Regions from separate parts of the Homo sapiens genome. Here region 1 is linked to region 2. Evidence: promoter capture Hi-C in 16 types of primary human blood cells and fetal thymus (Javierre and others, 2016). All regions are on one chromosome and are shown on one strand. Each heading gives the region's core, a stretch centred on a gene start or on the middle of the fragment in contact. The rest is flanking DNA. Distances are from core to core; before and after follow the strand shown.

Region 1 (6,400 bases), core at 3,722-6,221, 1.2 Mb before region 2:
TTTTGTGTTTTTTATTATTTTATTTAACTTTAAATTCTGGGATACAAGTGCAGAACATGTAGGTTTGTTACATAGGTATACGTGTGTCATGGTGGTTTGCTGCACTTATCAAATTAATCCATCATCTAGGTTTTAAGCCCCGAATGCATTAGCTATTTGTCCTAATGCTTTCCCTCCACTCATCCCCTAACCCCCTGACTGGCCCCAATGTGTGCTGTTCACCTCCCTGTGTCCATGTGTTCTTATTGTTTAACTCCCACTTATGATTGAGAACATGCAGTGTTTGGAAAAACTCTGCACTTTAACTTCATCCTCCTGCTTTTTAACTTTTTGTCACTTGTATTTATATTTTCTTGTATTGTGTATGTCTTGAAAAGTTGTTGTAGTTATTATTTTTGATTAGTTTATGTTGTTGTCATTCTACTCGACATGAGTAGTTTACACACCACAATTACAATGTTATAATATTCTGTGCTTTTCTGTGTACCTACTGTTACACAGTAATAGGGAGTTTTGTACCTTCAGATGGTTTCTTATTGCTCATTAATGTCCTTTTCTTTCAGATTGAATCACTCCCTTGAGCATTTCTTGTAGGACAGGTCTGGTATTGATGAAATCCTTAGCTTTTGCACTACTGGGAAAATCTTTAATTTTCTTTCATGTTTGAAGAATATTTTCACCAGATATACTATTCTAGTTTAAAAGTTTTTTCCTTCAGCACTTTAAATATGTTGGGCTACTCTCTCCTGGCCTGTAAGGTTTCTACTGAGATGTTTGCTGCCAGATATATTGGAGCTCCATTGTATGTTATTTGTTTCTTTTTCTCTTGCTACTTTTAGGATCCTTTCTTTAACCTTGACCATTGGGAGTTTCATAATTAAATGTCTCAAGTTCTTTTTTGGGTTAAATCTGCTTGGTGTTCTATAACTTTCTTGTACTTGAATATTGATATCTTTTTCTAGGTTTGGAAAGTTCTCTGTTATTATCCCTTTGAATAAACTTTCTGCTGCGTCACTCTCTCTACCTCCTCTTTAAGGCCAGTAACTCTTGAATTTGCCCCTCTAAGGCTATTTTCTAGATTTGGTAGATGTGCTTCATTGTTTTTTTAAATTCTTTTTTCTTTTTTTTCATTATACTTTGAGTTCTAGGGTACATGCGCACAATGTGCAGGTTTGTTACATAGGTATACATGTGCCATATTGGTTTGCTGCACCCATCAACTCATCATTTACATTAGGTATTTCTCCTAATGCTATCCCTTCCCCAGCCCCCCACCCCCCGACAGGCCCTGGTGTGTGATGTTCCTCGCCCTGTGTCCATGTGTTCTCATTGTTCAATTCCCACCTATGAGTGAGAACATGTGGTGTTTGGTTTTCTGTCCTTGTGATAGTTTGCTGAGAATGATGCTTTCCAGCTTCATCCATGTCCCTGCCAAGGACATGAACTCATCGTTTTTTATGGCTGCATAGTATTCCATGGTGTATATGTGCCACATTTTAATAATCCAGTCTATCATTGATGGACATTTGGATTGGTTCCAAGTCTTTGTTATTGTGAATAGTGCCACAATAAACATACATGTGCATGTGTCTTTATAGTAGCATGATTTATAATCTCCTGGGTATATACCCAGTAATGGGATGGCTGGGTCAAATGGTATTTCTAGTTCTAGATCCTTGAGAAATCGCCACACTGTGTTCCACAATGGTTGAACTAATTTACACTTCCACCAACAGTGTAAAAATGTTCCTCTTTCTCCACATCCTCTCCAGCATCTGTTATTTCCTGACTTTTTAATGATCACCATTCTAACTGGCGCGAGATGGTATCTCATTGTATTTTTGATTTGCATTTCTCTGATGACCACTGATGATGAGCATTTTTTCAAGTGTCTGCTGGCTGTTTTTTTATTATTATTTTTTCTTTTGTTTCCTCTGACTATGTATTTTCAAATATCCTGTCCTCATGTTCACTAGTTTTTTCTTCTGCATGATCACTTCTGCTGTTAAGAGACTCTGATGCATTCTTCAGTAGGTCAATTGCATTTTCAACTCCAGAATTTCTCCTTGATTCTTTTAAATTATTTCAATGTGTTTGTTGAATTTATCTTATAGGACTGTGAATTCCTTCCCTGTGTTATCTTGGATTTCATTGAGCTTCCTCAAAACAGCTATTTTGAATTCTCTGTCTGAAAGATCACGTATCTTTGTCTTCCCAGGATTGATCCTTGTTGCCTTATTTAGTTCATTTGGTGAGGTCATGTTTTCCTAGATGATCTTGATGCTTGTGGGTGTTTGTCAGTGTCTGGGCATTGAAGAGTTAGGCATCTATTGTAGTCTTTGCAGTCTGGGCTTCTTTACACACATCCTTCTTGGGAAGGCTTTCCAGGTATTCAAAGGGACTTGGGTATTGTAATCTAAGTTTTTGGTCACTGCATCTGTATCTGCATTAGGCGGCATCCCAAGCTCAGTCATGCTGTGGCTTTTGCAGACTTATATAGGTACTGCCTTGGTGGTCTTGGATGAGACACGAAAGAGTACTCTGGATTACCAGGCAGAGACTCTTCTTCTCTTCCATTTATTTTCTGCCAAACAAACGGAGTCTCTCTCTCTGTGCTGAGCTGCCTGAAGCCAGGGAATGCTGACATAAGTATCTCTGTTGTGGCCACCACCACTGGGACTGTGCTGGGTCAGATCTGAAGCGAGCATAGCAGTGGGTATTGCCCAAGGTCTGTAGTAACCACTGCCTTGCTACCAGTTAGGTTCACTCAAGGCCCTGAGGCTCTACAATTAACAGGTGGAAAAGCCAGCCAGGCTTGTGTTCTTCTCTTCAGGATGCTGAGTTCCCCCTGCCCCTGGGTAGGTTCAGAGATGCCATCCAGGAGCCAGGGCCTAAAGTTGGAAACCTTAGGATCTACCTGGCGCACTAGTCTACTGCGGCTGAGCTGGTACCCAAGCCACATAACAAATTCTTTTTTTAAATTTTATTATTATTATACTTTAAGTTTTAGGGTACATGTGCACAATGTGCAGGTTAGTTACATATGTATACATGTCCCATGCTGGTGTGCTGCACCCAATAACTCGTCATTTAGCAGTAGGTATATCTCCTAATGCTATCCCTCCCCCCTCCCCCCACCCCACAACAGTCCCCAGAGTGTGATGTTCCCCTTCCTGTGTCCATGTGTTCTCATTGTTCAATTCCCACCTATGAGTGAGAACATGCGGTGTTTGGTTTTTTTTGTCCTTACGATAGTTTACTGAGAATGATGATTTCCAATTTCATCCGTGTCCCTACAAAGGACATGAACTCATCATTTTTTATGGCTGCATAGTATTCCATAGTGTATATGTGCCACATTTTCTTAATCCAGTCTGTCATTGTTGGACATTTGGTTTGGTTCCAAGTCTTTGCTATTGTGAATAGTGCCACAATAAGCATACGTGTGCATGTGTCTTTACAGCAGCATGATTTGTAGTCTTTTGGGTATATACCCAGTAATGGGATGGCTGGGTCAAATTGTATTTCTAGTTCTAGATCCCTGAGGAATCGCCACACTGACTTCCACAATGGTTGAACTAGTTTACAGTCCCACCAACAATGTAAAAGTGTTCCTATTTCTCCACATCCTCTCCAGCACCTGTTGTTTCCTGACTTTTTAATGATTGCCATTCTAACTGGTGTGAGATGGTATCTCATTGTGGTTTTGATTTGCATTTCTCTGATGGCCAGTGATGGTGAGCATTTTTTCAGCCACATGACAAATTCTGTGCCACTATTCCTTTCCCTTTTCATAAGCAAAGGAATCTCTCCATATGGTCATCACCACTTCAGGATTATGATGAGTACTTCCTGGCTACTGCTGATGTTCACTCATGGCCCAAGCACTCTTCAGTTAGCTTGTCATAAATGCTGGGCCTGGGAGTCTCCCTTCAGGGCACTGGGCTCCCCTCTGGCCCAGGGAGTATCCATAAATGCCATCTAATGGCATCTTGGGGTCTCCATTTCCAAGAGCCAAGGCCTGGAACTGGGGACCCCAAAAGCCCGTTTAGTGTTCTATGCCACTGTGGCTGAGCTGGCACTTAAGCTTTGAGACAAAGCCCCCTTTACTATTCCCTTTCCTTTTCTCAAGCAGAAGGAGTCTCTCCCAGTAGTCACCATGGCTGGGAATGTGCTGGGCCACACCTAAAGCCAGCATAGCCCTGGGTTTCACCAAAGGCCCACAGCAAATACTTCCTGGCTATTACTGCTGACTATTCAGGGCCCAAAGGCTCTTTAGACTGCAGGTGATAAATCCTGCCAGGACTGGGTCCTTCCCTTCAAGGCAGCAGGTTCCCTCCTTGCCCAGAATATTTCTAGAAATGTCATCTGGGAGCTAGGGCCTGGAATGGGGGCCTCAGGACTCCTTTTGGTGGCCTATCCTACTGTGGCTGAGCTGGTAGCCAAATTGCAAGACAGTCCTCTTTTCTCTTCCATTTCTTCTCCTCAAGTGGAAGGAAGGAGTCTCTTGTGGAGCTGCAAGCTGCACTGCCTGGGGTTGGGAGAGGGTGGGGTGCAAGCACTGCCTTGGCCATCCTGGCTGGTGTCTCACTAGGTCATGTGTCCCCCACATCCACTGGCTCCACGCCTAGCACAGCACCAGGACTTGCCCACAAATTGCAGTCCCTGTGGCCTAGACTGTCTTTCAAGTTTATTTAGAACCCAAAGCACTTTAGCCCACTGTGGCAAGGCTTGTTGTATCTCAGGTTCCAACCACTAGGATGGATGATTCCCCTTTGGTTAGGGCTAGTGTAAATGCTCCCTTCATGGGCACTGGCTGAGTTCTGCCCAGTATTTCTTTCTGCTGTTAAAAGGCAGCACTGGGTCCCAGTGCAAAGTCCCACAGTCATTGCACTCTGTCTCTCAAGTGCACAGATTCTCTCTCCACACCACATGGCTGCTGCTGGGGGATGGGGGAAGGTTGGCATTGGCAATTCAAGGCTGTCTTTCCTACCCTTTTTTAATGCCCCTTTCAGTGATATGAAATGAAAACCAGGTACTGTGATTTATCATCTGGTTTTTGGTTCTTATGAAGTGTTCTTTTGGCTCTTTGTGTGTGTGTGTGTGTGTGTGTGTGTGTGTGTATAGTTGTTCAATTTGGTGTTCCTGTGGGGACGACAACTGGTGGGGGCTTCTATTTAGCCAGCTTGCTCTGTCTTCCAAATGATATCTCTATTTTAGAAATGAGAAAATTGAGAAAGTGAAGGTTAAACAGGTTAAGTGATAATGCGCAGACATTTTGATGAGGCTTCTAAATGCATGATCTTAACACAGTATACCACCCTGGAGACTGGATCCCAACCCAGACATATTTTCCTGCAAATGGAAATACAATTTGGTGTGATCACAAATCTGAGCAATGTTATGGAAACTGAGATGGGAGAGGAGATCATTTCTGAGGCCATTACAAGAGAGTAAGACCCAATGGCTCTGCAACATGCGCTGGCGTTTGCACATGGCCCAGTGCCCATTTCCTGCACTCCCCAGCCAGGGCAGGAAAGTTTTCTAAAATTTGATTTTATGTATTTGTGTGCTTTCTCAAATCCTTTTTGGAAGAAGGCAGCGTACAACTAAATAAATCCATTAAACATAGTCAGTATTGGTATGCATGAAGTTGAAGTGCATATAAGTGGTCTTCAAAAAGTTTGTGGAATATGTGTATTATGAAAAAAACTATGCATAGATTTCAAAATTATTTTTTAACAAACTTATACTAACTTTTTATGACATGTCTGAATAGGATTCAATTTGAGGCACTATCAGAGCAAAATGAATTCTGCTGAAATTGAAGCAAGGGGAAACATTAAATTTACAGTGAAGCTTGGGTTGAAAAATGCTGAAGTAATTGATGCTTTAAAAAAAGCTTGTGGGGACAATGCCTTAAGGAAATCAGAAGTTTACAAATAGATAACTCATTCTGAGAAAGGACAAGATAATGTTGATAATGAAGCCCACAGTGGCAGACCATCCACATCAAGTTTTGAGAAAAAACAAACTAACCAACCAATCTTGTTTGTGCCTGTATTAGTCTATTCTCACACTGCTATAAAGAAATACCTGAGATTGGGTAATTTATAAAGAAAAGAGGTTTAATTGGCTCACAGTTCTACAGGCTGTACAGGAAGCAGGATGATGGCAGTCTGCTCAGCTTCTGGGGAGACCTCAGGAAACTTACAATCATGGCAGAAGGCAAAGGGGAAGTAGGCATGTCTTACATGGCTAGAGCAGGAGGAAGAGGGATGGGGAGGGGGAGATGCTACACACTTTTAAACAACTAGATTTTATGAGAACTCTATCACCATGACAGCACCAAGGGGGATGGTGTTAAACCATGAGAAACTGCCCCCGTGACCCAATCACC
Region 2 (6,211 bases), core at 3,689-6,188:
TACATATATTGATTGACGTCTTATGTCTCCCTAAAATGTATATAACCAAGCTGTGCCCCAACCACCTTGGGCACATGTCATCAGGACCTCCTGAGGCTGTGTCATGGGCTCGTGTCCTCAACCCTGGCAAAATAAACTTTCTAAATTAACTGAGACCCGTCTCGGATTTTCGGGGTTCACATGTCACAGGCTCCTAGTTTTCCTCTTTTCTAGCTCTAATTCTCATTGTCATAAACAGTGAGAATATTCATTAAATATACATGTAGCAATTATCATCAACAGGCTTTCCAACCTCTACCAGACAGTCCAATCTCAGATTTCCCCCAGGTTTAACAAGAGATTTCTTCTCACTCTACACTTTTTCTCTAGACAGTCTCATCAATGTCAAAGCTTCAATTATAATCTATACACTGCAGACCCACATATTTTTATCTTCTCTGAGTCACTGATTCATGTATTCAACTGTCTTTTTGACATCTAAATCTGATTGGGGCATTCACACTCTCATATGTCCAGCCTGAATGTGTCATCTTCCCCCACCTCACTTGCTCAGCATGCCTACCTACCCACATGCTCAGGGTAAAAACTTGAAAGCTTTTAATTTGTCCTTACCTTCACCCTTTCTTTGTATGCAGTCCACCCCCAAGTACTGTCAAGTCAGTGTCTTAAATGCCTATTTAAATCTTATTCTGCCCCGCATCCCTCTAGATTAAAGTACAATCATCTCTCTCCTGAACTATTGATGTAGCTTCCTAATTGTCTTGATTTATATCAGCTCCGCCCCTTCCAGTCTACTCATCACACTATATCTAGAGTGATGGTTTGAATATGCGAAACTGATTGTGTTGCTCCCCTGCTTCAAATTTTCCAATGTCCTCCATTACTCCAAAGTCATAGATCAAAATTCTGCAGTCGGAAATTGTTTGACACCTGCCCATGTCACCAGACTATCTAGCACTATTTACTTCATCTCCCTGTGTTATAGGCACTTCATCTTCTTTCTGTCCTACAAAAGCATCATGCTCTTTCCTGCCCAGTGCCTTCACTCAGGCTGTTCCTTCTGCCCAGAGTCCTCTTTCTTCCCCTTTCCTTACCCCCACCTCACCCCCATTTACCTGATTATAGAATTTCCTTTCTTCCAAGATACTATAGCTTATAAGACACACCTTTTGTTTACAGCTTTCTAGAGAAAAAAATTATTCACTAAATAGGTATATAGCAATTGGAAATCCATATTGATCTTAAAAATCTTTAATTTGATAAGATGTGAATCTTAGAATTAGATAAATATGCTTGTAAATAGTTAAAAGTTAGTTACTTGCACATGGTTTTGTAACTTTCTATTTTACTCTGTTTTTTTCTTATTGTAATTATAATAATACAATTTATTAGAATTTTTTTTTTTTTTTTGAAATGGCGTCTTGCTCTGTTGCCCAGGCTGGAGTCCAGCCATGTGATCTCAGCTCATTGCAACCCCCACCTCCTGGGCTCAAGCAAGTCTCCTGGCTCAGCCTCCAGAGTAGCTGGGACTACAGGCATGTGCCACTACACACAGCTAATTTTTGTATTTTTAGTAGAGACGGGGTTTCACCATGTTGGCTAGGCTGGTCTTGAACTCCTGACCTTAAGTGATCTGCCTGCCTCAGCACCCCAAAGTGCTGGAATTACAGACATGAGACAGTGTGCCCAACCCAGAATTCAAATTTTTAAAAGGTCTCTCTCATCTATTAGAATGTGAGTTCTGGTACCACTAAATCTCTAGTACATGACACAGTGTCTAGCACAAAGTCGGTGTTAAGATTAACCAACATGTTCAAATCAGAATTGCTCCATTTCCCATTAGGTTATGTTCAAGCCAGGCTGTGTACCCACCCTATGCTAGTTTCTATTGCTATTATAACACATGGGCAGAAATGTTGTGGCTTAAAAGAAGGTACATTTATTCTCTCACAGTTCTGGAGATCAGAGATTCAAAATCAGTTTCACTAGAGTAAAGCCAAGATGTCAGAAGAGCTGTTTCCTTCTTGAGGCTTTAGGAGAGAATCCATCTTTTTGCTTAGTTAAGCTTCTAGTGGCTGCAAAGTTCCTTTGGCTGTATAAAGTAACATCCAAGGGCTTGGGAAATGGGATGTGGACATATTTGTGTGTGGGGGGAGGCATTATTCAGCCTACCACCCACCCCTGTGTTGAAAAACAATATGGAAGACTTAGATCCAAATTGGAAAATGGAGCATAGATCAAGAGACATCACTTAAGAGTCAAGACTATGTTTTAGACCGGGTGTGGCTCCTTCCTAGTGGTGAGATTCTTGGTAAATACCTTCATTTCTTCAAGCCTCCTCCGCAAAATGCTGGACCAAAGCAGGTGATTTCTTCCCTTCTATGATCATGGGCTCCCAATGGTTACATGCTAGAGTATGATTTTATGCTGTCCTCATGGCTTCGCATGGCCCACATGGCTTCAGGAACACAAAAGAAGCCCAGAAAAAGGTTTCAAGATCCCATACCCTGCCACTGTGAATGAGAGACAGTTTCTTGATGCTGATTTTCCTCCAGGCCCCCATCACAGCCTGGTTTCAATTTTGGTAAGAAGAGGAACAGAAAAACAGACCACATATGTAACATAACAAGCTCTGCACCCTTCCTCCTTTATGGTTTCTTTAAATACCAACATAGAGTACCCCCTCCCAAAAAACCTAAAACTGGAATATCCCATCAAGGTATAACTATTTATTACCTACCCACCCCTTAAAAAAAAAGGGAAATAATAAAAGAGGTAAAATTATTGTCCACTTATCTGGCATGAATCATTACATTCTAGATAACTTAGTCATGCACAAAACTAAACAAAAAATATAGTTTTAGACACTAGTAGATTGCACACTCATCTAGATTAAGAATTCCAGAGACGCTCAAAATAGAGGACTTATGTCTTTCAGCCTATCTCAGTGCCTGGCAAGAGTAAGTGGCCAATGAATGTGAGATGAATTGAATCAGGCCCCTATAATTTTTTCATAAAGTATGAATATGTACATGTGATTTGGAGCAGACCAAGTAGATATATTCCTGGGTGTGCCTAGAAGCACTGAGAAGCTGTGTATGTGTTAGATGGAGGTCATTGGTGTGAACATACCAAAAATTTAACAGCAGAGAGCTTTCAGGGTATGCCCCAGCTTTTCTTGTGTTTCAACAGCCCCTTGAAATATTAGAAAAGAGAAATAGAGACATAGATGAAGAGAGAGAGAAAATTGATGGAGAAATAACCAGTTAAAAATAAAGTCAAAACTGAGTGTGAAAGTGAGGCTACTAAAACCAGGATAATAGTCATCCATAGAAATAACCTGTGCTTTGGGAGGAATCCTCAGGGCAGGGGTGATCTCCAGGTAAGAACTGATCAAAGGAGATGTTTGTGTTTGGCTAGGTTTTTACTAAAGCCCTTACTCCCTCTAGTGGGAAGACGGAGCTGTGCAGCATCCGTAGCAAGGTGTGTGCTCTTCAGGGCTAAAAGTCCTTTGGAATCAAGATTGTTTCTTGTTTCTTTTTTTTTCTTTTTTCCTTTTTCTCTTTCTTTTCTTTTCTTTCTTTCTTTCTTTCTTTCTTTCTTTCTTTCTTTCTTTCTTTTTCGTTTTTCTCTTTCTTTCTTTTTCTGTTTCTTATCTCCTCAGCTTGAAGGTTGCATCCTCTTTATCTCCTTAAGTAAAGCTGGGAGTTCTGTAGTACTCCAGGAGTGAGGACAATTATGCTTAAGAAACTTTGGTTTCAGTTTAGTCCCAGACCAAGAGGAAAACATTTCAAAATTTTAAAGTAAATCCTAAAAGTGTAATTTACACCAGAGCGATTGACCTGGCATTTATGTAGACTGAAGCTTGAGAAGTAATTCAAGTGGTTTCCACTCATTCCCTTGGAAGAGTCCTTAGAATGTACTTCCATTGGTCTGAAAAACGCCTGAAAAAGAGTCCTGATGCTAACAGTAATGGAAATAGGAGGGCTGGTGGTTCACGATCAGCCCAGTGGTATCCTCTATTCTATTTGCATCTAGGTAAAGAGACTGTGGCCTGTATGTGATCAAACAATTTGTTGAAGCGCTTTGGGCTTAGGGCATTTAATTTCTGTGAAGTAGGACCATCAGTTGTTTGCTCTGTTTTTGTGTCACCTCTCAGAATACATTAAAGTAGGGGCAACCCTTGAGCCCAGACTTCTGCCATGTGAAGACCCTTTGAAAATCCTGACAAACACAGGTACTGCGTAAGTGGTCAGCTAATTAAAGAGGGGAGGTGGAGCTGTCCTTTGTGTATCCAATAAGTACCCATTATCTCATTTGAGCATGAAAAGAGGCCACTGTTATTACTTTCAAGAAGGAAAGTAAGCAGGATAGCTCATATTTTTAGAACAATTCCTCACCAAATGGAATAATTCCGGTGAAAAGTGGGAGTGAGGAAGAAAGAAAAAAAAAACTTCTAATCATAATGTTTGGGAATAAGAAAGGAAGAAGAAACTCACGTCAAAGCCGACTTTCTCCTGCAGCTGTAAAATAAACTCTTAAGACCCTTCCTGCTGAAACTCTGGAGAGGAAAACTGGAGTGGCGGGTGGGCTTTGCCTGCAGCTCAACTCTCCCTCGCGGCGCGGGCGCGGCTGGGTTCAGCACCTCGGAAAGCGCCCCTCGCGGCGCCCCGGGATTACGCATGCTCCTTGGGGCCCGCCGCCTTGGCCGTGCAAGTGCCACCGTAACTGGTGAGAGCCGCTGGCAACCCACCCGGAGTTGACAACCGCGGAGAGACGCAGACACCCACTGACCTCCAGGAAGCTGAGCGTGGTGGATGGAACTCTACGATCTCTTTCTCTCCAAGGACGGAAACCTCATCCAAGCAGTCCCAGAGGAAACGGATAAAGGTATTTGAAAGGGAGCGAGCGGCCCCAAATCGCACAATTGAGCGGCTGGGGGAGTTATGCGCCAGTGCCCCAGTGACCGCGGGACACGGAGAGGGGAAGTCTGCGTTGTACATAAGGACCTAGGGACTCCGAGCTTGGCCTGAGAACCCTTGGACGCCGAGTGCTTGCCTTACGGGCTGCACTCCTCAACTCTGCTCCAAAGCAGCCGCTGAGCTCAACTCCTGCGTCCAGGGCGTTCGCTGCGCGCCAGGACGCGCTTAGTACCCAGTTCCTGGGCTCTCTCTTCAGTAGCTGCTTTGAAAGCTCCCACGCACGTCCCGCAGGCTAGCCTGGCAACAAAACTGGGGTAAACCGTGTTATCTTAGGTCTTGTCCCCCAGAACATGACCTAGAGGTACCTGCGCATGCAGATGGCCGATGCAGCCACGATAGCCACCATGAATAAGGCAGCAGGCGGGGACAAGCTAGCAGAACTCTTCAGTCTGGTCCCGGACCTTCTGGAGGCGGCCAACACGAGTGGTAACGCGTCGCTGCAGCTTCCGGACTTGTGGTGGGAGCTGGGGCTGGAGTTGCCGGACGGCGCGCCGCCAGGACATCCCCCGGGCAGCGGCGGGGCAGAGAGCGCGGACACAGAGGCCCGGGTGCGGATTCTCATCAGCGTGGTGTACTGGGTGGTGTGCGCCCTGGGGTTGGCGGGCAACCTGCTGGTTCTCTACCTGATGAAGAGCATGCAGGGCTGGCGCAAGTCCTCTATCAACCTCTTCGTCACCAACCTGGCGCTGACGGACTTTCAGTTTGTGCTCACCCTGCCCTTCTGGGCGGTGGAGAACGCTCTTGACTTCAAATGGCCCTTCGGCAAGGCCATGTGTAAGATCGTGTCCATGGTGACGTCCATGAACATGTACGCCAGCGTGTTCTTCCTCACTGCCATGAGTGTGACGCGCTACCATTCGGTGGCCTCGGCTCTGAAGAGCCACCGGACCCGAGGACACGGCCGGGGCGACTGCTGCGGCCGGAGCCTGGGGGACAGCTGCTGCTTCTCGGCCAAGGCGCTGTGTGTGTGGATCTGGGCTTTGGCCGCGCTGGCCTCGCTGCCCAGTGCCATTTTCTCCACCACGGTCAAGGTGATGGGCGAGGAGCTGTGCCTGGTGCGTTTCCCGGACAAGTTGCTGGGCCGCGACAGGCAGTTCTGGCTGGGCCTCTACCACTCGCAGAAGGTGCTGCTGGGCTTCGTGCTGCCGCTGGGCATCATTATCTTGTGCTACCTGCTGCTGGTGCGCTTCATCGCCGACCGCCGCGCGGCGGGGACCAAAGGAGGGGCC

What was found. The method cuts DNA at HindIII sites, captures the fragments that hold promoters and counts their contacts. A CHiCAGO score of 5 or more calls a contact.
Region 1: a contact is called between a fragment that was not itself captured here and the fragment with the promoter of RXFP3 in region 2, in 1 of 17 cell types (M0 macrophages). The highest score is 6.4, in M0 macrophages.

The regions. Positions count from the first base shown.
Region 1 is chr5:32,699,281-32,705,680 of GRCh38, forward strand. It overlaps a transcript of NPR3 not described here. Among named protein-coding and RNA genes, the nearest start is that of NPR3, 8.8 kb to the right of the region's middle. The HindIII fragment of the contact is 1,772 bases long and covers 4,086-5,857 here.
Region 2 is chr5:33,931,448-33,937,658 of GRCh38, forward strand. RXFP3 (relaxin family peptide receptor 3) reads left to right here and starts at 4,939. Exons shown (of 1, transcript NM_016568.3): 1 at 4,939-6,211. The coding sequence starts at 5,294. RefSeq lists an enhancer at 1-96. The HindIII fragment of the contact is 5,701 bases long and covers 3,863-6,211 here.